Regions from separate parts of the Homo sapiens genome. Here all the other regions are linked to region 5. Evidence: promoter capture Hi-C in 16 types of primary human blood cells and fetal thymus (Javierre and others, 2016). All regions are on one chromosome and are shown on one strand. The core of a region is centred on a gene start or on the middle of the fragment in contact, and the rest is flanking DNA. Distances in the headings are between cores, read along the strand shown.

Region 1 (4,047 bases), core at 1,126-3,625, 1.2 Mb after region 5:
GAAAAGTTTTTTATAAGCCACACACTTATAAAATTCTTAGAGAAGGCAGGGCACGGTGGCTCACGCCTGTAATCCCGCACTTTGGGAGGCTGAGGCAGGCGGATCACCTGAGGTCAGGGGTTCGAGACCAGCCTGGCCAACATGGCGAAACCCCATCTCTATTAAAAATACAAAAATTAGCTGGGCGTGGTGGTGGGCGCCTGTAATCCCAGCTACTAGGGAGGCTGAGGCAGGAGAATCACTTAAACCCAGGAGGTGGAGGTTGCAGTGAGCTCAGATCATGCCATTGCACTCCAGCCTGGGCAACAAGAGTGAAACTGTCTAAAAAAAAATTTTTTAGAGAATATACATCTAAGAAGAGGAGGGTATATTTTTTTGTAGTCACTTTTCAGCACTCACTTCTTCTGAAAGATTTCCTTGGCCTTGTTGAGATTGCCTGAACAAGCCACCAGGCTGTGCTGTCCCATTTTCCCAACTGCAAAGGAAATGCCACACATAAGATAGTTCCCTAAGAGTAACAGGCCAGCTCTCCAAGATCTCTCTGCTTAACATCTGACAAACAGGCAGGAAAGGGAGAAGGGAAAGGTGAAAGGATTTAGGGAACTAATCATGTTGATACAAGTTACTTGCTAACTGCCATAGTCTATGAGCACTACTAGCAGTTCAACTATAGAAGAGTTTTCAGACTCAATGGGCTGCTCTTAGTTTTTCCAGTGGGAACTCTAAGGAGGATGCCTGCCATTCCCCAATTTCAAGATGCTCAACTTGATTCCTAAGGCTCTCCCAGACTTCAGAGCCTCTACTGACCCAATTTAAACCCAGAGAATCCTTTGGCCACCCACTAAGCTGCTTCTGACTTTCTGAATGCCAACTCATAAAATCTCAATAAAAATCATTACCTCGGCCCCATCTCATCCAAACACTGAAGTTCCTCTGGGCATCATCTTCTAATAGCTGAATCAGATAGTACTTGTTGTTGTTGAACTGGAGATTGGTCTATGTTGAGTGAAAACAAAAACAAAAAAAAGGAGTTTTGCAAATGGAAATCACATAAACCAATGACTCATCCTTCGTCACAGGTGCCAGTTATTTCCATAAGGAAAAGGATAGCATCAGGCAAGAAAATTAGATTCCTGTAAGATTAAAGATATAAAGAAGAAATAGGGCTTATACATTAAACTTTGGATTCTTAGGAATTAAAGTGGGAGCCTAGAAGCTTCCTAAAACCCTCTATCCAACCTCAAATATCCTACATTGAATGGCTCCTCCAGTTTTTTCCTGCCTCAGCTCCCTATTTAGATATTTTCTAAGCTATATGTGTTTTCCAGCTCCCAATCCACTCCCAATAATTATTTCCCAAATGAAAACAATTTGGATGCTCCAAAGGTCTAAACCTGTTATGCTCAACTGTTAAATGACTTACTCCTTGACAGTTCTACTCACAGCTTTTGTTTGTCAGCTGCAGAAATTTGACAATGAGCTGAGAGCAGGGCAATAATGGGAGGGGACAAGGGATACGCAAAACCACTGCCACATCCGTCCCATACCTAACCTGACCTGACTTGGAGATACTGAGAGAGAATATGGCCAGTATCTAAAAAGAGGTATCTGTAAGTAAATCACTCAGAGTGAAGAGAGAGAAGTCCATGATAAGGCATAGCAGCTGGTGTTGTATGGCCGAGCCCTGGATATGGAGGCATTCTTTTTTGTTAAGCATGCTGCCCCTTCCTACCTCTATCTCCTGCTTGCTCACATTCTAAAGCCATTGTACGACCTTAGCCCACTGGTGAAAAAAAAAAGGTCATTAGATGTTAGAACAAAAAGGAGCCTAAGATATTTTCTTTTTTTGAGACAGAGTCTTGCTCTGTCGCCCAGGCTGGAGTGCAGTGGTGCAACCTCCGCTCATTGCCACCTCTGTGTCCTAGGTTCAAGCAATTTCTTGTGCCTCAGCCTCCCTAGTAGCTGGGATTACAGGCACACGCCACCATGCCAGACTAATTTTTTTTTGTATTTTTAGTAGACATGGAGTTTCAACATGTTGGCAAGGCTGGTCTTGAACCCCTAACTCAAGTGATCTGCCCGCCTTGGCCTCCCAAAGTGCTGGGATTTTAGGCATAAGCCACCATGCCCAGCTTGATATTTTCTTTTCCTTTAAAAAATTTTTTTGTAAATGTTTTTATGGTTTTTATTTTTTATTTTTTTGAGATAGGGTCTCCCTCTGTCACCCAGGCTGGAGTGCAATGGCTCAATCACAGCTCACTGTAGCCTCAACCTCCCAGGCTCAAGCAATCCTCCCACCTCAGCCTCCAAAGTAGCTGGCCCATGCCCGGTGTTTTTGTATTTTTTTGTAGAGACAAGGTTTCACCATGTTGCCCAGGCTGATCTTGAACTCACACCTGAAGTGATTCTCCAGCCTTGGCCTCCGAAAGTGCTAGGATGACAGGCATGAGCCACCACACCTGGCTGCCTTAAGGTATTTTCCTTCTTTTCTTTTTTTTTTTGAGAAGGAGTTTTGCTCTTGTTGCCCAGGGCTGGAGTACAATGGTACGATCTCGGCTCACCACAAACTCCGTCTCCCAGGTTCAAGCAATTCTCGTGCCTCAACCTCCCGAGTAGCTGGGATTACAGTCATATGCCACCACACCTGGCTAATTTTGTATTTTTAGTAGAGATGGGATTTCTCCACATTGGTCAGGCTGGTCTTGAACTCCCGACCTCAGGTGATCCGCCCGCCTCAGCCTCCCAAAGTGCTGGGATTACAGGCGTGAGCCACTGCACCTGGCTAACCTTAAGGTATTTTCTATCTGCTCGTGGTATTTTAAGTAGAAGAAATAGTAAGAAATAAATACTAATTGGTTGTTAAAATTATATATGTTGGATCAATAAATTCAAACATGAAGTCATATCCAGGAAATATATTAATGAGGCAAATGTATTATCTACTCAAAACCACAAAGGTAAACAAGAGAAAAAGGTTGATTAAAAAGAAAGCTGAGCTTGGGGGCAGATGCCTGTAGTCCCAGCTACTTGGGAGGCTGAGGTTGGAGGATCACACGAGGTCACAAGTTCAAGGCCAGCCTGAGCAACATAGCAAGACACTGTCTCTAAAATTAAAAAAAAAAAAACCCAAAATTTTTTAAAAAGGAAAAATTAATAAATTTAACTACAGAAAAAATTTAAAACTTCAATATGGGCAAAAAGTGTACTATAAGGAAAACCAAAAGGTAAATGACAAATCTGGAAAACACAAGTGGTTTGTATTACAGACAAAAGGCTATTCTCCATATTATATAAAGTTCCTCGAAACCAGTAAGAAAAGGACCAATAACTTTAGAAAATGTGCAAAACAGCTTGTCCCAGTGGCTCATCCCTGTAATCCCAGTGCCTCATGAGGACAAGGCAGGAGGATCATTTGAGGCCAAGAATTCAAGACCACCTATCCAACATAGCGAGATTCTCATCTCCATAAAAAATTTAAAAATTAGTCAGGCTTTGTGGCATGCGCCTGAAGTCCGAGCTACTCAGGAAGCTTAGGTGGGAGGATTGCTGGAGCCCAGAAGTTCAAGGTTGCAGTGGGCTATGACTGTACAAACTGCACTCCAGCCTGGGTGACAGAACAAGATCCTGTCTGTTTAAAAAAAAAAAAAAAATGTGCAAAAGGATATGAACAGAGAGTTAACAATTTCAATAAATGATATGAAATTTGCAAAAAAAAATCTTCTCACAGAGGACTCTGCTATCTGATAAGAGTGTGCTAGGGCTGAGTACTCAGGTGTTTAACCACTAATGGCTAATATTAATATAAAGGACTTGCCGGGCGCAGTGGCTCATGCCTGTAATACCAACACTTTGGGAGGGTGAGGTGGGTGGATCACCTGAGGTCAGGGGTTCAAGACCAGCCTGGCCAACATGGTGAAACCCCATCTCTACTAAAAATACCAAAAAATTAGCCAGACACTGCACCTGTAGTCCCAGCTACTTGGGAGGCTGAGGCTGGAGAATTGCTTGAACCCAGGAGGCAGAGATTGCAGTGAGCCGAGATTGCAC
Region 2 (4,094 bases), core at 391-2,890, 1.0 Mb after region 5:
CAGACAATGCTTGAGCATCTGTGTGCCACAAACAGCAGAAAAAGCAGCAGACTGGCCTCCCTCTATGGAGCTACAACCTCTTCCCTATTTTGTATCTGGAGCTTCCTTAGTTCTTTAAGTGTCTGTTAGGGGCTCTTATCTAACTGGTCGAAGGTTACTAGCTTCCAAGTAGAAGTTGGCCTGAGAAAACCCTGTCTAAAAAAATCAGGACCTAGGTGAAGTCTCCAGCCCCTGTAGCAGCCAAGTGCTGGGACATCTGCAGTTCCTTTGTTATTACATATTTGGGGCTGGCTGTACTTTCTTTGATGCACTTCCTTTCTTAGTGGAGAGTCTGCTAGCCAAACTGATAATGGACCTCCTCGGGGTTTATTGTTTTTATCAATTCCTTGTTGCTTCCCATATTTAAAGCAGTCCCAGTTTGGGCTATGACTTGGGAAAAAATCCAGGTGTGGTTCAGGCGCCCATAAAGACCACACGAGACTTCAGGTAGGGGAGGAGGCACTGCCCCTTTGCTGGAAGCAAAGTTGAGACAGGCCTAAAGACTGTCCCATCTGTCAAATAAGGTGACGAAAATAACCTTGTATTTGATTAATCCAATCTACAAACTTGTGCGTATGTTAAAGGTTGGTGGTCATAAAACTGAGTAAAGGCACGGTGGCTTGTCCCTGTAGTCCCAGCTACTGGGAAGGCTTAGGCAGGAGATCAAACTCAGGAGTTTGAGTCCAGCATAGGCAAGACCCCATCTCTATTGAATTTTTTTTTTTTTTTTTTTAGTAAAACGATGAAATCTTCTAGTAGTGGAGACACTAATGAAAAGATAATTTAACAATTTGATCAGCAATGGGGAAAGACGGGGCTCTGTAAGGACAGCTTCCAGGAAAACCCAGTCTTGTGTCCTGTCCTGAAAGTGACTCTAGCGACAAAGGCTGGAGTGATAATCTTAACTTTTTAATCCATTTCCTTCTGGTACCTCATTACTCTGACTTTTTAAAGGTACTTCTTTGAGTAGAACAGCTAACTTTGTCTACTGTTCCCCACCGTCCATTTTCTCCCCGCTCAGAAGATCCCAAGCTTCCGCACTCCTTTATTGCACCCGCCCAGCCTCCTTTAAAATGCATAAGCCACGCCCCCCATGTTCTGGCGCTAAGTTCGGGCCAATGCAGTTGCGCCGCTAGGATCACAGGACGAAAGAAGTAAAGTCACCAGCCAATAGGAAACCAGCTACAACGCAAAGCCGGAGAAAAGTGTTTTAGTGGTGTCTTTGAACCAATGAGGAGCAGAGCAACAGGGACCGTGCAGCTTCCAGAAACACGTGACCAGTTGAGCAGACGCAGCCTAGCCCTACCTCCTGGTCTGGAGGTAGCGCGATGGGCGTCGCTCCCAATAGCTTGCAGAACCTCTAGTCACGTGCAGGTTTTGCAAGCCCAGCAGCATCTGGCAGGTCATGTGACAGTTGACGTTTGTGCGTCGCTCCCCAATGGAAAAGGAGAGCTGCCTTCACAGGACCAGGAATTGGTTTATCTACGCGAATAATAGCATGACCCGGGCGGGGATAGCCTATCACGTGCTGCTAGACGGAACGGGGCGGGGCAGGCCACTGGTTGCGGAGTGAGCTGGGCGCGCGGCGCGCAGGCGCCCTGGGGACCCGGTAGCGGCGGTGGCGGTGGCGGCGGTGGCGGTGGCTGCGGCGACGGCAGAGGCGAAGGGAGCCGGATCGCCGACCTGAGCGGGAGGCGGCGGTGGCGGCCATGGCGGCAGATGGAGAGCGTTCCCCGCTGCTGTCTGAGCCCATCGACGGTGGCGCGGGCGGCAACGGTTTAGTGGGGCCCGGCGGGAGTGGGGCTGGGCCCGGGGGAGGCCTGACCCCCTCCGCACCACCGTACGGAGCCGGTAAACATGCCCCGCCCCAGGGTAAGCCGGGGCGGGTCCGAGGTGCTCCCCGGGGTACTCTGAAAGCCGGGGAGGGGGCGGGACCGAGGGCGGAGGCGGGTCCCAGTCGCCAGGTGCGGGACTGCTGCACCTGTGACTGGGCGAGGCTTCCTTCCCTCCGTAATCGCGACCACAGCCTAGGGACGGAAGGGGGTTCTGAGCAACCTGATAGAAGTGCCAATTATGAGAAGCCCTCCGAGCTTGGTCAGAGGGTTGAAGATCAGAAGGACTTCCCTACCACCGTGGAGCATCAGTGGGGGTGTAAGTGATCCCAGCCCTTCTATTTGCTTCCTCTCCAGCATTTCCCCCGTTTCCCGAGGGGCATCCAGCCGTGTTGCCTGGGGAGGACCCACCCCCCTATTCACCCTTAACTAGCCCGGACAGTGGGAGTGCCCCTATGATCACCTGCCGAGTCTGCCAATCTCTCATCAACGTGGAAGGCAAGATGCATCAGCATGTAGTCAAATGTGGTGTCTGCAATGAAGCCACCGTGAGTTACACATATCTATGAAATGGGCCCTGTTTCCTGGATCCTCTTTCTGATGTCTTGGTTCTAGACCCTGACCTTCCGGCTATTAGCCAAGTGCTTTTGATGATACCCAGGTTTCAGTTCCAGGTGTCTCACACAGCCATTTCCCCAGAAGCCACTCACCAAAGCTAATGTTCACTTTCTCTCACTTTTACACCTAGCCTAGTTCCTATTTGCAAATCTCATGATATAGTCTTTCTTTTATTTCTCCTTCCTGGTTAGCACCTTATTTTTCTGATCTCATAAAGTGTTTTTGGAGGGAAGTGGAGGGGATTGGGATTAGAGGTTTGCTTGCTGATGACCCTATTATTCTCTAGCCAATCAAGAATGCACCCCCAGGGAAAAAATATGTTCGATGCCCCTGTAACTGTCTCCTTATCTGCAAAGTGACATCCCAACGGATTGCATGCCCTCGGCCCTACTGGTAAGAGGCATAAGGTGGGGAAGGGCCTAAGTGGGGAACTGGAAAGTCAAAAAAGGATGAGCGTATACAGAGAATGTAAAGGTGAGAGAGCCTAGTGTTTATTTAGGAGAAAAGGCTTTGAAGCATGTGCCTCAGGAATGTTATAGCTGTCTTTCTCGTTTCTCAATAAAAATATTGAGATGAAATGATGTCGTTTCGGAGAATAGAGAGCCTTGGGGACTGGGTGTGTTATCCTGAGGTCGGAGGGGAATTGGGGACCTGAAGTTTAAACAGTGCTCTTTCTTTCTCAAGGATTCTTGAGGGTATACAGTTGGGGGACAGAGTATCTTAAGTACAGAGAAGTCGAGTGACTTAATAGACAGGGAGTGGGGGATGTGGAACAGGGACTGTGAAGATTTTTAGGATTAAAAATTTTTCAAACACAAGTTTGAAAATACAAGTCTTTTTCTTTTGTATAGCAAAAGAATCATCAACCTGGGGCCTGTGCATCCCGGACCTCTGAGTCCAGAACCCCAACCCATGGGTGTCAGGGTTATCTGTGGACATTGCAAGAATACTTTTCTGGTGAGGAAGGGGTATTGGGAAGGGGAGGGGAAAGGAGACTAAGAGTCATTTCGAGTATATTTCTTAGAGTAATGGTAATGACCCCTGAAAGGTCTGTCCTATGGGAACATGTTCTGCATCCCCACCCCAAGGTTCTCATTGAGGGAGACCCTGCTTGTGCTATTATTTTTGTTTTCTTTCTCCATAGTGGACAGAGTTCACAGACCGCACTTTGGCACGTTGTCCTCACTGCAGGAAAGTGTAAGTGATTAGGGATTGAGCTGGTAATTGATGTATGGAGTAAAAACTACAAGGCCATAGAAAGCATCCATTTCTATTTGCCTCCCCACAGGTCATCTATTGGGCGCAGATACCCACGTAAGAGATGTATCTGCTGCTTCTTGCTTGGCTTGCTTTTGGCAGTCACTGCCACTGGCCTTGCCGTGAGTACCCTTGCCCCAACCTCTTTCATTCTGCAGCCTCATCTCCATAGGCTAAGATTTGGGAAACTGCTACCCTAAAAAAAAGTGGAAGAAACTTGGGGGACTAGTTTGTTTTGTTTTAAGATATGGATGAGCTAAAGTGCAAAGTGGCTGATCAAACAGACTTTATTACTACTACAAGAGTGAAAAACAGCCTTCCTTTCTCTGTAGGATGAGGATAGGACAG
Region 3 (4,590 bases), core at 25-2,524, 1.2 Mb after region 5:
CAGCCCATCTAGGCCCTTGCAGTGATGGGCACTATCAGTCAGCCTCTGGGCAGAAAGTGACCCTGGAGCTCAAGCCACTGAGTACGCTTCAGCCTGGGGTGAACAGCGGTGCCGTCATCCTGGGAAAGGTGGTATTTAGCCTCACCACAGAGGAGAAAGTCCCCTTGTGAGTTTCTCTTGGATTTCCCCCATTTTACCCTTTTGAACTAATTGCTCTCACTTCCTGTTCTTTCCCTGGCAGTTGAGGAGATTGTCAGTGGTCACAGATTTGTGACTTCTGATTTCCTTCTGTGACTATCCCGTGGGCAGATATTGTCTGGGTGATGTTTAACCATCTTTTGATCAGAGGCTTTTGTAGATTCTGTCACTGCCCATTTTGTATCCCTGAGTTTGGTGCTATGTGGATTCCTATATCCATAGTTGAAATTTGGCAGGACATATTTTTTTATAAGACAGAAACCTCAAAATTCTTCTGTCCCTTTGCATTTTCATGATCATAGAAGTTGAAGGAGGACAAATTTCTTAGTCCTGTTTGTACTTAGGTATACTTAGTTCTGAAAAGTGAGCTTTGAGTTATAATTTAAAGTCTGGTTGGGAGATTGTCTTAGATGTCATTCAACAAATATTTATTGAGTGTGTAATATATGTGTCATAGGGAGTGAGAAAAAAGAAATGTAAAGGACCCAGGTGCAGGTGCTTCTAGCAGCAGAGGAAATGAATTAAGAATATTTGTTTAGAAAATTTTTGGATCTTGAAAAGTTACGGTTTAGTGAATGCCACCACTCCTTGGTCCTTCACTCACTTCCTAATCCCTGGTTGACCGGTTTCCCCTTTCTCTTTTCTACTGAAATTGTTATTTTCCTAGGATCACCATTGTCTTTCTAGGCACTGGATCCAGCAACTTCTATTGCATGGTTCCAAAACATTCTGACTTATCTCTCACTATTGCTTTTCACATCCTTTCTGTTCATCTAAACAGAAATATTCACAATTCCCATTATATGCCCAAGCTTTCTCCATGGCATTTTCTAGGGGTTTGTATATTTGACGAGTTGAAGGGCAAAAAGATAGTTGAGAACAGTTTAGTTTACTAGAGCAAATCCTAGAGCTGAGAAGAATTAGAAAGGGATATAGACAAAGGTAGGTTTTGGAGGACCTTGAGAACAAATAGATATTTTGCCACTCCTTGGTTTCTCTTTTTCTGCCTAACTTTTAAATCTTAGGTTCCCAGGACTCTATTTTTGTTTTTTTCCTTTTTTCTCTTTATATCAGGATGGCCTATAGTTGCCAACTTTGATCACTTGTCAGTGGTTGCCTGACATACTGTGTAGAAGGATTCTGAGGCTTTGACTGGATTCATCAGGAGAGTGCTTTGCTTGATTGCAATATTTCCTGTGAATTCAGGCATGTCACGTGATGGCATGAGTGTGATTCTTCTCCATCCTGTCTATAGATCATCTTGCCCTGTGATGTCATATAAACCCAAGGCTTTGGCAGCCTCCTATATGCTTACAGATATATCTCCAGCCCAAGCTTCATTTCCAAGTGTTGGATTCCTATAACCATCTGCTTCTGGGTTCCAATAAGAAATCTCTAACTCAGTATTTCAGTATTACTCACCTAAATCTTTCTCTGTAAACCTGCTTCTCCTCCCTGGATTCCTTGTGAATGAATGGTATCACCTCTCAGTCACTTGATTAAGACTTTTGGAAGAATAGGCTTCTCCATTCTCCAAAAAGATTTGCCTTTTTTGTCCTATAGACTTGACTTCTCTGTGTTTACCACCTTAATTCACCCCCTTATCACTTCTCCAGATAGGTCTCCCTGATTCTCTGGTTTCCTCCAGTGTTCCACAGTGCTGCCAGAGAAATGTTTCTTAGATGGAAATCTGACCATTGCTACTTCTTATTTAAGATCCCTTACTGGTACTATATGTAGCTTTTGGGATAAAGTGTGAACTACTTAGGTTAGCATACAAAGTCCTTCATGATTTGCTCCCTGCTTCTCTTTCTATTATCTTTTGTCTCTTTCCCACCAGTGCCTTTTGTTTCAACCATGGAACAATTTTGTTGGTTTTAGAACAGCTGTTTTCATGCCTCTGTGTCTTACATACAGTTACTCTGCCTGGATAATCTCTAGCTTCTTCTTGACATAGCTAACATCCTCTTCTGCCCCCAACATTTTGTATAAAAATTTTCAAACATATAGCTAAGTTGAAAGAGTTTTACATTGAACATTTGTGTTCTCATCCACTTATATTCTACCATTAATATTTTATTTTACTTAGCTTATTACATATCAGTCTGTTTATCCTGCTATCAGAGTAAATTGCAGAGATCAATATACTTTACATACTTTAGCATGCAGTCATTAACTGAGTTCAGTATTTGTTTCAATTTTTTCTTTTTATGTAAAATTTACATACAATGAAATGTACAATTTTAAGCGTACATTTCATAGCTTTTAACAAATGGAAAATATCTGTATAACCCAAATAGAGATCATTACCACCATTCTGGGAAGTTCCCTGATGTTGCCTCCAAGTCAAAATCTCTGTTCCTATCCCCTCAGAGGTTTTTAACATTTTTACCGAGGATTAATTTTTCTCTTTTAACCCAGCTGGTTTTTTACCCTTTAAGATTCACTTTGAGCGTCACCTCTTCCAGGAAATCTTCCCTGCTTTCCAATTTTGATTTAGATATTTGTCCTCTGGGCTCCCACAGCCCAATCTGTGGCTTCATTGAATTCAGCACAAGGGAAAAGCTATTCTAGCACCCATCACACTGTGCTGTAAGTGATGACTTCATTGTCTGACTCCTGCTAGACTATAGGTCATTCATAGCTGGATTGGTATCTTATTGCTAAACACAATGCTTGGCACATATGTAATATTCAGTGAAAGTTTGTGGAGTTAAACTACACAGACAGTGATGGTTAGAGGCTTTGGTTAAGAGTATGATAGTTAAATTGATAGACCAGGAATAATGTTACAACTGTAACATGTTGGTCTAGTTCATCATTAATATTTGTTGAATGGCTTCAGTGTGCTTTGTCCTAAGTTCTTAGCAAAGTGACTGATGAGTTTCAGAAAAATGAAGACTCAGATATATAAAGTGGAAGATGGTACCTCTCATAGGTTTTCTGAGTAACTGAGAAAAAGCATTTGTTTATTTTGTTAGTATTTTATTTTTAAAGTTTAATTAAGTTAAATTTTATATTTTATTTTAATTACCTGTCACTGACTTTAAGTCCAGTATTTTGCTAGTATTTTTAAACCACTGTTTCTGCTCTTCTTTCCTACCCACATACCTTTTTGTTTTCCTCTCTCCTAATCTGTCTTTACTTGGTAGTACATTTGGCCTGGTAGATTCAGATGGACCTTGCTATGCAGTGATGGTGTACAATATAGTGCAGAGCTGGGGAGTGCTCATTGGAGACTCTGTAGCCATTCCTGAGCCCAACCTGCGGCTTCACCGAATTCAGCACAAAGGAAAGGTGAGCAATGGCTAGGATTCTCTTACAACTCGTAGGCTCTAAAAGTAGAACCAAGCTTATCTTTTTATAAAAGATATAGAAATAATTATATGTAAGTATGTGTGTAGGCTATGTGTATATATATTTGTGTGTATATGTTTTATTTATATATATATATGTATTTTTTTACTAAAAAGGTAAACTGGTAAGCAGAAAAATAAAAAAATGCAGTGAAATATTATCACTCAGGTATTACTGCCTTTTAACTGTTACTGTTAACAGTTTGGTGTATATACCTGAAGTCTTTTCTTTTCACAAATATATACACATATATCTATATTTTAAATCATGAGTGGGATATTATATGCAAATGTTTGTGAATGTTTCCTATGTTTTTACATATTTCACCACATTGAGTAGACACGGGGTGATGAAGATGGTAATGATAGTTAACATTTATTTAACACTTAATTGAGTGCTAGACACTGTGCTAAGAGTTTTTATTACCTGCCTTGCCCCATTCAATTCTTAAAAAAACCTTATGAATGTAGATATTTAACTACTGTTTAACCATTTAGATCAGAGGTTGGCAAAGCCCATTGACCAAATCTGGCTCACTGCTTGTGTTTATTAATAATGGTTTCTAGGCTGGGCATGGTGGCTCATGCGTAAAATCCCAGCACTTTGGAAGGCCAAGGTGGGAGGATCACTTGAGCCCAGGAGTTTAAGACCAGCCTGGGCTATATAGTGAGACCCCGTCTCTACAAAAAAATGTTAAAAAACTTAGCCAGGTATGGTAGCACATGCCTGTAGTCCCAGCTACTAAGGAGGCTGAAGTGAGAGAACCACTTTATCTCAGGAGTTTGAGGCTGCAGTAAGCCATTATTGTCCCATTGCACGCCAGCCCGGGTGATAGAGAAAGTCTGCCTCAAAAAAAAAAGAAAAACAAGAGTGTGGTTTCTGTGTTGTTAAGTGAAAAAAATGGACAGAAGCGTAATATTTTGTGATATGTGAAAATTACAGGAAATTCAGATTTCAGTGTCCACAAATAAAGCTTTATTGGAACACAGCCACACTCATTTGCTTACTATTGTCTGTGGCTGTTTTTGCACTATA
Region 4 (4,003 bases), core at 831-3,330, 1.2 Mb before region 5:
CTTAACATATTCAGCAAACTGTAGGGTAAACAGATATGCTGTCATCCAGGCTTTGTTGTTCCCTTTATAGAACACAGGCAGAGTAGATTTCGCATAATTTTTTTTTTAAGAGACAAGATCTCTCTCCGTTGCCCAGACTGGAGTGCAGTGGTGTGATCATGGCTCACTGTAGCCTTGATCTCCCAGGTTCAAGTGATCTTCCTGCCTCAGGCTCCTGAGTAGCTGAGACTACAGGTGCAACTAATTTTTGTGGGTTTTTTTGTAGAGATAAAGTTTTGCCATGTTGCCCAGGCTGGTCTCAAACTCCTGGGCTCCAGTGATCTACACAGCTACCTTGGTGTGTCCCAAAGTGTTGGGGGTTATAGGTGTGAGCCAGCATGCCTGTCCTGACAGTTTTTTTTTTTTTTAAAGCACTTTAAATGTATTATCCCACTGCGTTCTGGCATCCAGGGTTTCTGCTGAGAAAATGGCCAGTAGTCTTTTTTTTTTTCTTTTCCCTCAGAGTGATTGGACTTCAGCTGATAGTGTTATTGAGGATCACTTGTACATTATGAGTTGCTTCTCTCTTGCTGCTGTCAAGATTCTCTGTCTTTCAACAGTTTGATTATAATGTGTCTCAGTGTGAGTCTCTTTGGATTTATTTTACTTGGAGTTTATTGAGATTCTTGGATTTGTAGATTAGTGCCTTTCATCAAATTTGGGAAGTTTGCAGCCATTTCTTCAAATAATCTTTTTGCCCCTTTCTCTAACCCCTCTTTGGGAATCGTAATGCATATGTTGGTCTACTTAATGGTATTCCACAAGTTCCTTGGTCTCTGTCCACTTTTCTTTTTTTCTTTTTTTGAGACAGAGCCTCACTCTGTTGCCCAGGCTAGAGTGCAGTGACACAATCTTGGCTCACTGCAACCTCTGCCTCCCAGGTTCAAGCAATTTTCCTGCCTCAGCCTTCTGAGTAGTTGGGATTACAGGCACTCATCACCATGTCCAGCTAATTTTTGTATTTTTGGCAGAGATAAGGTTTTGCTGTGTTGGCCAGGCTGTTTTCGAACTCCTGACCTCAAGTGATCCACCCGCCTTGACCTCCCAAAGTGCTGAGATTACAGGCATGAGCCACCTCACTTGGCCTATCCACTTTTCTTTATTTATTTTTCTTTATGCTCCTCAGATTTGAAAATTTCAATTGTCTTATTTTCAAGTTCACTGATTCTTCTGTGTTTGAGCTCCTCTAGTAAATTTTCATTTCAGTTATTGTGTCTTTCAGCTATAGAATTTCTGTTTAGCTCCTTTTTACAATTTTTGTCCCTTTCTTGGTTTTCTAATTTTGTTAATATACCATTTTCCTGATTTCCTTTAGTTTTTTGCCCATGTTTTCTTTTAGCTCTTTGAGCAAATTTAAGACAATTGTTTTAAAGTCTTTGGTAAGTCAAATGTCTGGATGTCCTCAGAAATGGTTTCTGCCAATTAATTTTACTCCTTTGAATGTGCCATGTTTTCCTGTTTCTTTGTATGCCTTGTAATTTTTGTAGTTTTTGTTGAAAAGTAGACATTTGAAAAAACAGCTAACTCCCCTAGTCTTTGCAGATTGGCTCTATACTGGTACAGTTCTTCAGCACTGAGCAAGGCTTGCTTTGAGCCTAGGGATCAGCTGAGGTGAAGGCTTAAGGTCTTTTCAGGGCTTTTCTGACCAAGTGTCTTACCTGGGCATGTGTAACTTCCCAATTTCCCCATATACATGGCTGCTTTTGAATGTCTTATTTCCTAAAGAGTCTCAGTCCGGTTTCTCCTGGGGCCTTACATGGTCTACTGTATGTATCCACCCATAGTCTTTTACTCCACATGTCAGTGGGTCTGTAGTCTCCTTGCAGCTTTCATGAGCAATGACTACCGCTTTTCTGAGACCTGAGGCCAGTCCTTTAGGTAACCCCCATATGCGCACAATAATTTGCAAAAAGCTTTGCTCTTCTCCCTTCCATTTAAGGGAGGGAACTTGGAATTAGGCTGCTGCCTCTTCCAGACTAAGAGCACTGCCGCATCAGGGAGGAGGAGGGGACGAGGGCAAATAAAGACACGACAAAACTTTCTTAACATTTGGAAGGTGGGCATTCACTTGGTTACTGTAAACCTTTAACTGTTTTTTGGAGCTCTTACAGGTTAGTTCAGCTCATTTCTGGTTGTTTTATGAAGTTTCTGTTGGATAATGAAAGCTTGGAGCTTTGTCGTCCACCATTTTGCTGATATCACATGAGCATCCATTTTAATAAGATAGAAGAAAAGAGCACATTGGACCTTAAGTAAGTGTAAGAAAAGGAATAGAAAGTTAAGAGAATAGGCCAGGCATGGTGGCTCACACCTGTAATCCCAGCACTTTGGGAGGCTGAGGTGGGCGGATCACCGGAGGTCGGGAGTTCAAGACCAGCCTGACCAACATGGAGAAACCCCGTCTCTACCAAAAATACAAAATTAGCTGGGCATGGTGGCACATGCATGTAATCCCAGCTACTCGGGAGGCTGAGGCAGGAGAATCGCTTGAACCCGGGAGATGGAGGTTACAGTGAGCACTCCAGCCTGGGCAACAGGAGTGAAACTTAATCTCAAAAGAAAAAAAGAAAAAAAGATCAGGAGTTCAAGACTAGCCTGAGCAACATAGTGAGATCTCATCTCTAAAAAAAATTTAGGGCCGGTGGCTCACACCTGTAATCCAGCACTTTGAGAGGCTGAGGCAGGAGGATCACAAGGTCAGGAGTTTGAGAGCAGCCTGGCTAACATGGTGAAACCCCATCTCTACTAAAAATACAAAAATTAGCTAGGCACAATGGCTGGCGCCTGTAATCCCAGCTACTTGGGAGGCTGAGGCAGGAGAATTTCTTGAACCCAGGAGGCAGAGGTTGCAGTGAGCTGAGATCGTGCCTTGCACTCCAGCTGGGGCGACAAGAGCAAGACTCCGTCTCAAAAAACAAAAACAAAAAAATAAAAGAAATAATCTATATTTTGATTATTGTGGTGGTTAAGTAGGTGAATACATTTATCAAAATTCAGCAAACTATTCATTTAAATGGGCACATTTTATGTAAGTTATACATAAATAAATTTTATTCATAAGTAAAAAAACAGTTTACAGAGGACACTTCCCTGTCAAAATAGTACATTTGTCTCGATTAATTCATATATTTTGAGTGAAAAATTTTAAAAAGTTTATTCTCTGGATAATTACTTTGCCTTGTCACCTGGTATGGACATTTAGTCTTTGGTGCCTTATGAGATAAATGAATAAAGTGCTTGGGTAGTTCTGATGAGAGAGATTATGTCTAAGAATACATCAGGGATGGCTTCATGGAGGAAACCATTTTTAATCTTGGCCTTAATTAATAGATACAGAGAAAGAAAGATAAAAATAAAGAAAATAGCATGGCATTCCAGGCAGAATGAACAATAAAGGAAAACAATATTGCCTTTTGCAAAAATACACTGTTTTTTTTTTTGAGGGACTCTGTGTTTTCATTGTTTGTAATATCACGTCTCCGTGTTAAAGACCTGTGTGTAATTTTCAGTCATTAATTATGCACGGATGATTTCTCCCTATGCAGAATGCTGTTTGGGCTTAATCAGGCAATCTTTTAAAAGATGTAGTCTCTAGGGATTTGCTATTTAAGAAGTGGAACTAGCTACGTTATAATTAAATAATTCCTGCTACAGTACCATGTAAAAGGTCATTCATCATTCAACATTTATTTATTCTACAAAATATTTATCGAGTGCCCATTATATATCTGGTACTATTCTAGGCAATAGAGATACACATAAGTCAATATTTATCCCTCATGGGGCCTAATATTCTTTTTTTGTTCTTTTTTTTTATTATTATACTTTACGTTCTAGGGTACACGTGCATAACATGCAGGTTTGTTACATATGTATACATGTGCCGTGTTGGTTTGCTGCACCCGTTAACTCATCATTTACATTGGGTATTTCTCCTAATGGTATCCTTCCCCCATCCCCCCAC
Region 5 (3,978 bases), core at 1,380-3,879:
TTCATCACTACTAAATCTCCATAGTATCTAACACATAGTAAACACTCAATACTTACTGAATGGATAAAAGTCATATTACAATACACATACATCTTTCAATAGCTCCCTTCATATTCACCCCTTCCTTTTCATTACTGTTCATAACCAGCTTTTAGTTACAGTTCTTCTCATCAGACACTTAGTTACAATGGACTAATAACCATCTTTGTCCTCTCCAAAATCTCCTTCCTCCTCACCTCAATTTATCTAGAACAGCAAATCAATTTTGAAACATTCCTATTTACAAACCCTAAGTGTTTCCTATTGTATTCTGAATAAATTGCCAAGTCTTTACTCAGGTACCATGTACCTTCTACAATCTGGCCTCAAATTTGGAAACCTAAAATTTCTCCCAATATTCCCAAATATAAATCTTTATGTTCTGGCGAACTAATCCAGATTGGCATAACACACATCACGCTTTCCTACCTCTAGTCTAGACCTTTGCCTTTATCATATTCCAGACCTGGATTTCCCTCCTATACCTTCACCTACTGAAACCTTAGTGGTCATTTTAAGCCTGAACCTTGATTCCAGCTTCTTTCCAATGCCTTCCTGGGTCATTAAACTTGGAGTCCTCCTCTTCTTTGAAATCACGTTTTTTTTTTTCCTGTTTTTTTGTTTTGTTTTGTTTTTGTTTTTTAAAAAGTCTATGCCCATGCTACCTCATGCTGTGAAGATGGTTCAGTATTAATAAACTGGCTCACAGCTCCTTGACCAGATTATAAACTCTTTGAAAACAGGAGCCATGCCAGTCAAACTATTTTTTGTATTTTTTGGACAACAGCGTATGGCATCATGTAGACATTGGATAAGTCAGTGATTCCCGAAATGTTTCCATTCAGGGAGCTCCATTAAAAAAACAAAACAAACAAACAAACAAAAGGCCAAGCCGGTGGCTCATGCCTGTAACCCCAGCACGTTGGAAAGCCAAGGCAGGCTGATGAGCTAAGGTCAGGAGTTCAAGACCAGCCTGGCCAACATGGTGAAACCCCATCTCTATTAAAAATACAAAATTAACTGGGCATGGTGGCAGGTCCCTGTAATACCTGCTACTAGGTAGGCTGAGGCAGCTAGAATCCAGGAGGTGGAGGTTGCAGTGAGCTGAGATCACACCACTGCACACCAGCCTGGGCAGTAAGAATGAAACTCTGTGTCAGGCCAGGCTCGGTGGCTCACGCCTGTAATCCCAGCACTTTGGGAGGCTGAGGCAGGGGGGCAGATCGTAGGGGCAGATCACGAGGTCAGGAGTTCGAGACCAGCCTGGCCAACATAGTGAAACCCTGTCTCTACTAAAAATAAAAAAAATTAGCCAGGTGTGGTGGCACGCGCCTGTAATCCCAGCTATTCGGGAGGCTGAGGCAGGAGAATCGCTTGAACCCAGGAGGCGGAGGTTGCAGTGAGCTGAGACCACGCCATTGCACTCCAGCCTGGGTGACAGAGTGAGTGAGACTCCATCTCAAAAAAAAAAAAAAAAGAAAATGTGTCAAAAAAAGAAAGAAAGAAAGGATTGTAGGAAAAACCACCACCACCAACCTTGTATTTAAGTTTACTACACATACAGAAAAGTGCACACCAAAATGTTCAGCTCAATTACATTTCACAAACTGAACACACTCATGCAGGTAGCTCTCATAACAAAAAACACAACGCAACCAGGACCTCAAAGCCCTCTTAGTGTCGGAACCCGATTTTAATAGATTACACGTACTTTGTAAATTTAGCCTAAGAGAGAGATCACGTATTTGAAGACCTCTCGGATTTTTCCTTCATCAGCCCTCCCCACTTCCCCACGCCTCGTCAACACAAAGAAGCATGCCCGCACCCACCACCGCCCCCTCCTCACCTCAGATTGGGGACCACCGTTGTGTTTTTTATTTTTTTGTAAATGAACGCATGGAAACAAACCAACACCACCTTCAGTGGAAAAGGTATGTTAGTACCAAACTGTCAAAAGGAACTAGTGATCCTTCATCTTAAAAATCTGTACTATGGCCGGGTGTGGTGGCTCACGCCTGTAATCCTAGCACTTTGGGAGGCCAAGGAGGGCGGATCACGAGGTGAGGAGTTCGAGACTGGCCTGGCCAACACAGTGAAACCCCGTCTCTACTAAAAATACAAAAAATCTGCCGGGCGTGGTGGCGGGCGCCTGTAATACCAGCTACTCGGGAGGCTGCGGCAGGATAATCACTTGAACCCGGGAGGTGGAGGTTGCTGTGAGCCGAGATCGCGCCATTGCACTCCAGCCAGGGCGACAGAGTGAAACTCCGTCTCAAAAAAAAAAAAAAGAAAAAAACCCCCAAAACTGTACTATATGGTGTTGCTCTCTACGAGTGCTACTTTAACACAAGTCAACTCTCAGGACTCCTCTCCGAATATTCAACATGGCCGCATGCGCGTCTATAAGCAACATGGCCGCTCTGCCAGTCACCAACATGGCAACCACAGCCTCACTGTGTCCGGAAGCATGAGAGAGCGGGTATGAGGACTATACCGGCCGCTCTGCCAACACCTAACGTGGCTCTTTATAGCTTCCAAGAAAGCGCGACACCGGAAATGACTTTTCTGTCTTGCTCAGCTCCAGGGGTCATTTTCCGGTTAGCCTTCGGGGTGTCCGCGTGAGAATTGGCTATATCCTGGAGCGAGTGCTGGGAGGTGCTAGTCCGCCGCGCCTTATTCGAGAGGTGTCAGGGCTGGGAGACTAGGATGTCGGACACGTGGAGCTCTATCCAGGCCCACAAGAAGCAGCTGGACTCTCTGCGGGAGAGGCTGCAGCGGAGGCGGAAGCAGGACTCGGGGCACTTGGGTGAGGCACTGGGCTGTTGGGGCCGAGGCTCAACCGGGGAGGACGGGCGGGATCCCTAGAGAAAAAGCTCCAGAGTCACTGCCCTTTACCAAACGGCCATTTCTATAAAGCCTCGTACATTGGTACTCCCTCTCCACCTTCAGCAGCAGACGTTCGCCCTTCTGCAAGTAGTTCGCGGTTCCTCCTCACGCTGGGCCTCGGTTCTTCCAGCTCACTTTTACCGGACGGACGCTTGAGCCCCACCCTCGTCCGCCTTGCCCACTCCTCTTCAGACTGCGAGGACGTCGCCTTTGTGAGGCTGCTCAGCCCCCTATCCCGCGAAGCAGCAAGAACCCCTTTTTGTTGCTGCTTTGGCGCTTTGTTCCCTCAGTTATAACGACTGTTTTGTAGTGGTCATTTCTTGGCAGCTGTGGGTACAGTAAGCGAGGAATGAACCTTTATATCCGCAGTGCCCAATTTAGTGGCCCGTACAGAGTGGCACTGGGTGTTTCTGAATGAGTACCCCTACCGGCATTGACTTAGCCATTTACATACCTAGCAGGAATCTGAAAACATTTGTGTTTGGTTTCCAAACTTTTTCTCTTCTCCTGTTGCCCCCGTGTCACGATCATAAAACTTGAAGGAAATTTAAAAGATTAAATTCACTGTTATCCACTCCCTACCCTCAGGACAAACTCTGAATTATTTAAGGCAAACTAGTAACAAAGCTCTGCAAAAATAGTGACTCAGTATCACCTTTGTGGTAGATTGTTCCAATATTTGTCAGTATCTTCAACTGCATCTCTAAATCTTGTCTAGATCATGTTAGGTTCATGTGCTCGTATTCTGGCCCCTAGAAATAGAAGATGCACTGGCAGGATCCTCCCACCTAATTAATTACCTTTCTTGAGTATCTACAGTGTTCATGGGTCTAATTAGACAAAAATAAGGAAGAAATTGCCCCTGTCCTCAAGAAGTTTAAAAAGCATAGGATTCAAGGGGAGACGCTTACAAAAAGTGAGGAATATGATAAGATATATGTACGAAACCAAATGAATGAATCTACAGTCTGTACAATGAAGAGAAGTAACAAGAGCTGGTGTAGGTAGTGAAGCCATCAAAACCATCATAGTGGAATTGGCACTTGAATTTGG

What was found. The method cuts DNA at HindIII sites, captures the fragments that hold promoters and counts their contacts. A CHiCAGO score of 5 or more calls a contact.
Region 1: a contact is called between a fragment that was not itself captured here and the fragment with the promoter of METTL3 in region 5, in 1 of 17 cell types (monocytes). The highest score is 7.9, in monocytes.
Region 2: a contact is called between the fragment with the promoter of PIP4P1 here and the fragment with the promoter of METTL3 in region 5, in 3 of 17 cell types (monocytes, erythroblasts and non-activated CD4 T cells). The highest score is 8.1, in monocytes.
Region 3: a contact is called between a fragment that was not itself captured here and the fragment with the promoter of METTL3 in region 5, in 1 of 17 cell types (total B cells). The highest score is 5.1, in total B cells.
Region 4: a fragment that was not itself captured here is called in contact with the fragment with the promoter of METTL3 in region 5 in 4 of 17 cell types (non-activated CD4 T cells, naive CD4 T cells, naive CD8 T cells and 1 more); the score reaches 8.5 in non-activated CD4 T cells.

The regions. Positions count from the first base shown.
Region 1 is chr14:20,347,475-20,351,521 of GRCh38, reverse strand. It overlaps PARP2 (poly(ADP-ribose) polymerase 2), which reads right to left. Exons shown (of 16, transcript NM_001042618.2): 5 at 900-996; 6 at 400-475. Among named protein-coding and RNA genes, the nearest start is that of PARP2, 5.9 kb to the right of the region's middle. The HindIII fragment of the contact is 2,313 bases long and covers 1,219-3,531 here.
Region 2 is chr14:20,458,980-20,463,073 of GRCh38, reverse strand. PIP4P1 (phosphatidylinositol-4,5-bisphosphate 4-phosphatase 1) reads left to right here and starts at 1,640. Exons shown (of 7, transcript NM_144568.4): 1 at 1,640-1,890; 2 at 2,229-2,419; 3 at 2,776-2,882; 4 at 3,341-3,446; 5 at 3,634-3,686; 6 at 3,778-3,868. The coding sequence starts at 1,749. RefSeq lists enhancers at 976-1,055, 388-1,353, 1,356-1,425, 1,354-2,320 and silencers at 1,546-1,955, 2,016-2,185. The HindIII fragment of the contact is 6,669 bases long and covers 1,074-4,094 here.
Region 3 is chr14:20,290,888-20,295,477 of GRCh38, reverse strand. TTC5 (tetratricopeptide repeat domain 5) reads left to right here. Exons shown (of 10, transcript NM_138376.3): 8 at 1-166; 9 at 3,351-3,495. Among named protein-coding and RNA genes, the nearest start is that of TTC5, 13 kb to the left of the region's middle. RefSeq lists an enhancer at 1-422. The HindIII fragment of the contact is 523 bases long and covers 1,013-1,535 here.
Region 4 is chr14:22,758,643-22,762,645 of GRCh38, reverse strand. The region is part of intron 1 of OXA1L-DT (OXA1L divergent transcript); the gene reads left to right. Among named protein-coding and RNA genes, the nearest start is that of OXA1L-DT, 5.9 kb to the left of the region's middle. The HindIII fragment of the contact is 252 bases long and covers 1,955-2,206 here.
Region 5 is chr14:21,509,991-21,513,968 of GRCh38, reverse strand. METTL3 (methyltransferase 3, N6-adenosine-methyltransferase complex catalytic subunit) reads left to right here and starts at 2,629. Exons shown (of 11, transcript NM_019852.5): 1 at 2,629-2,845. The coding sequence starts at 2,746. RefSeq lists an enhancer at 2,347-2,586. The HindIII fragment of the contact is 13,792 bases long and covers 1-3,978 here.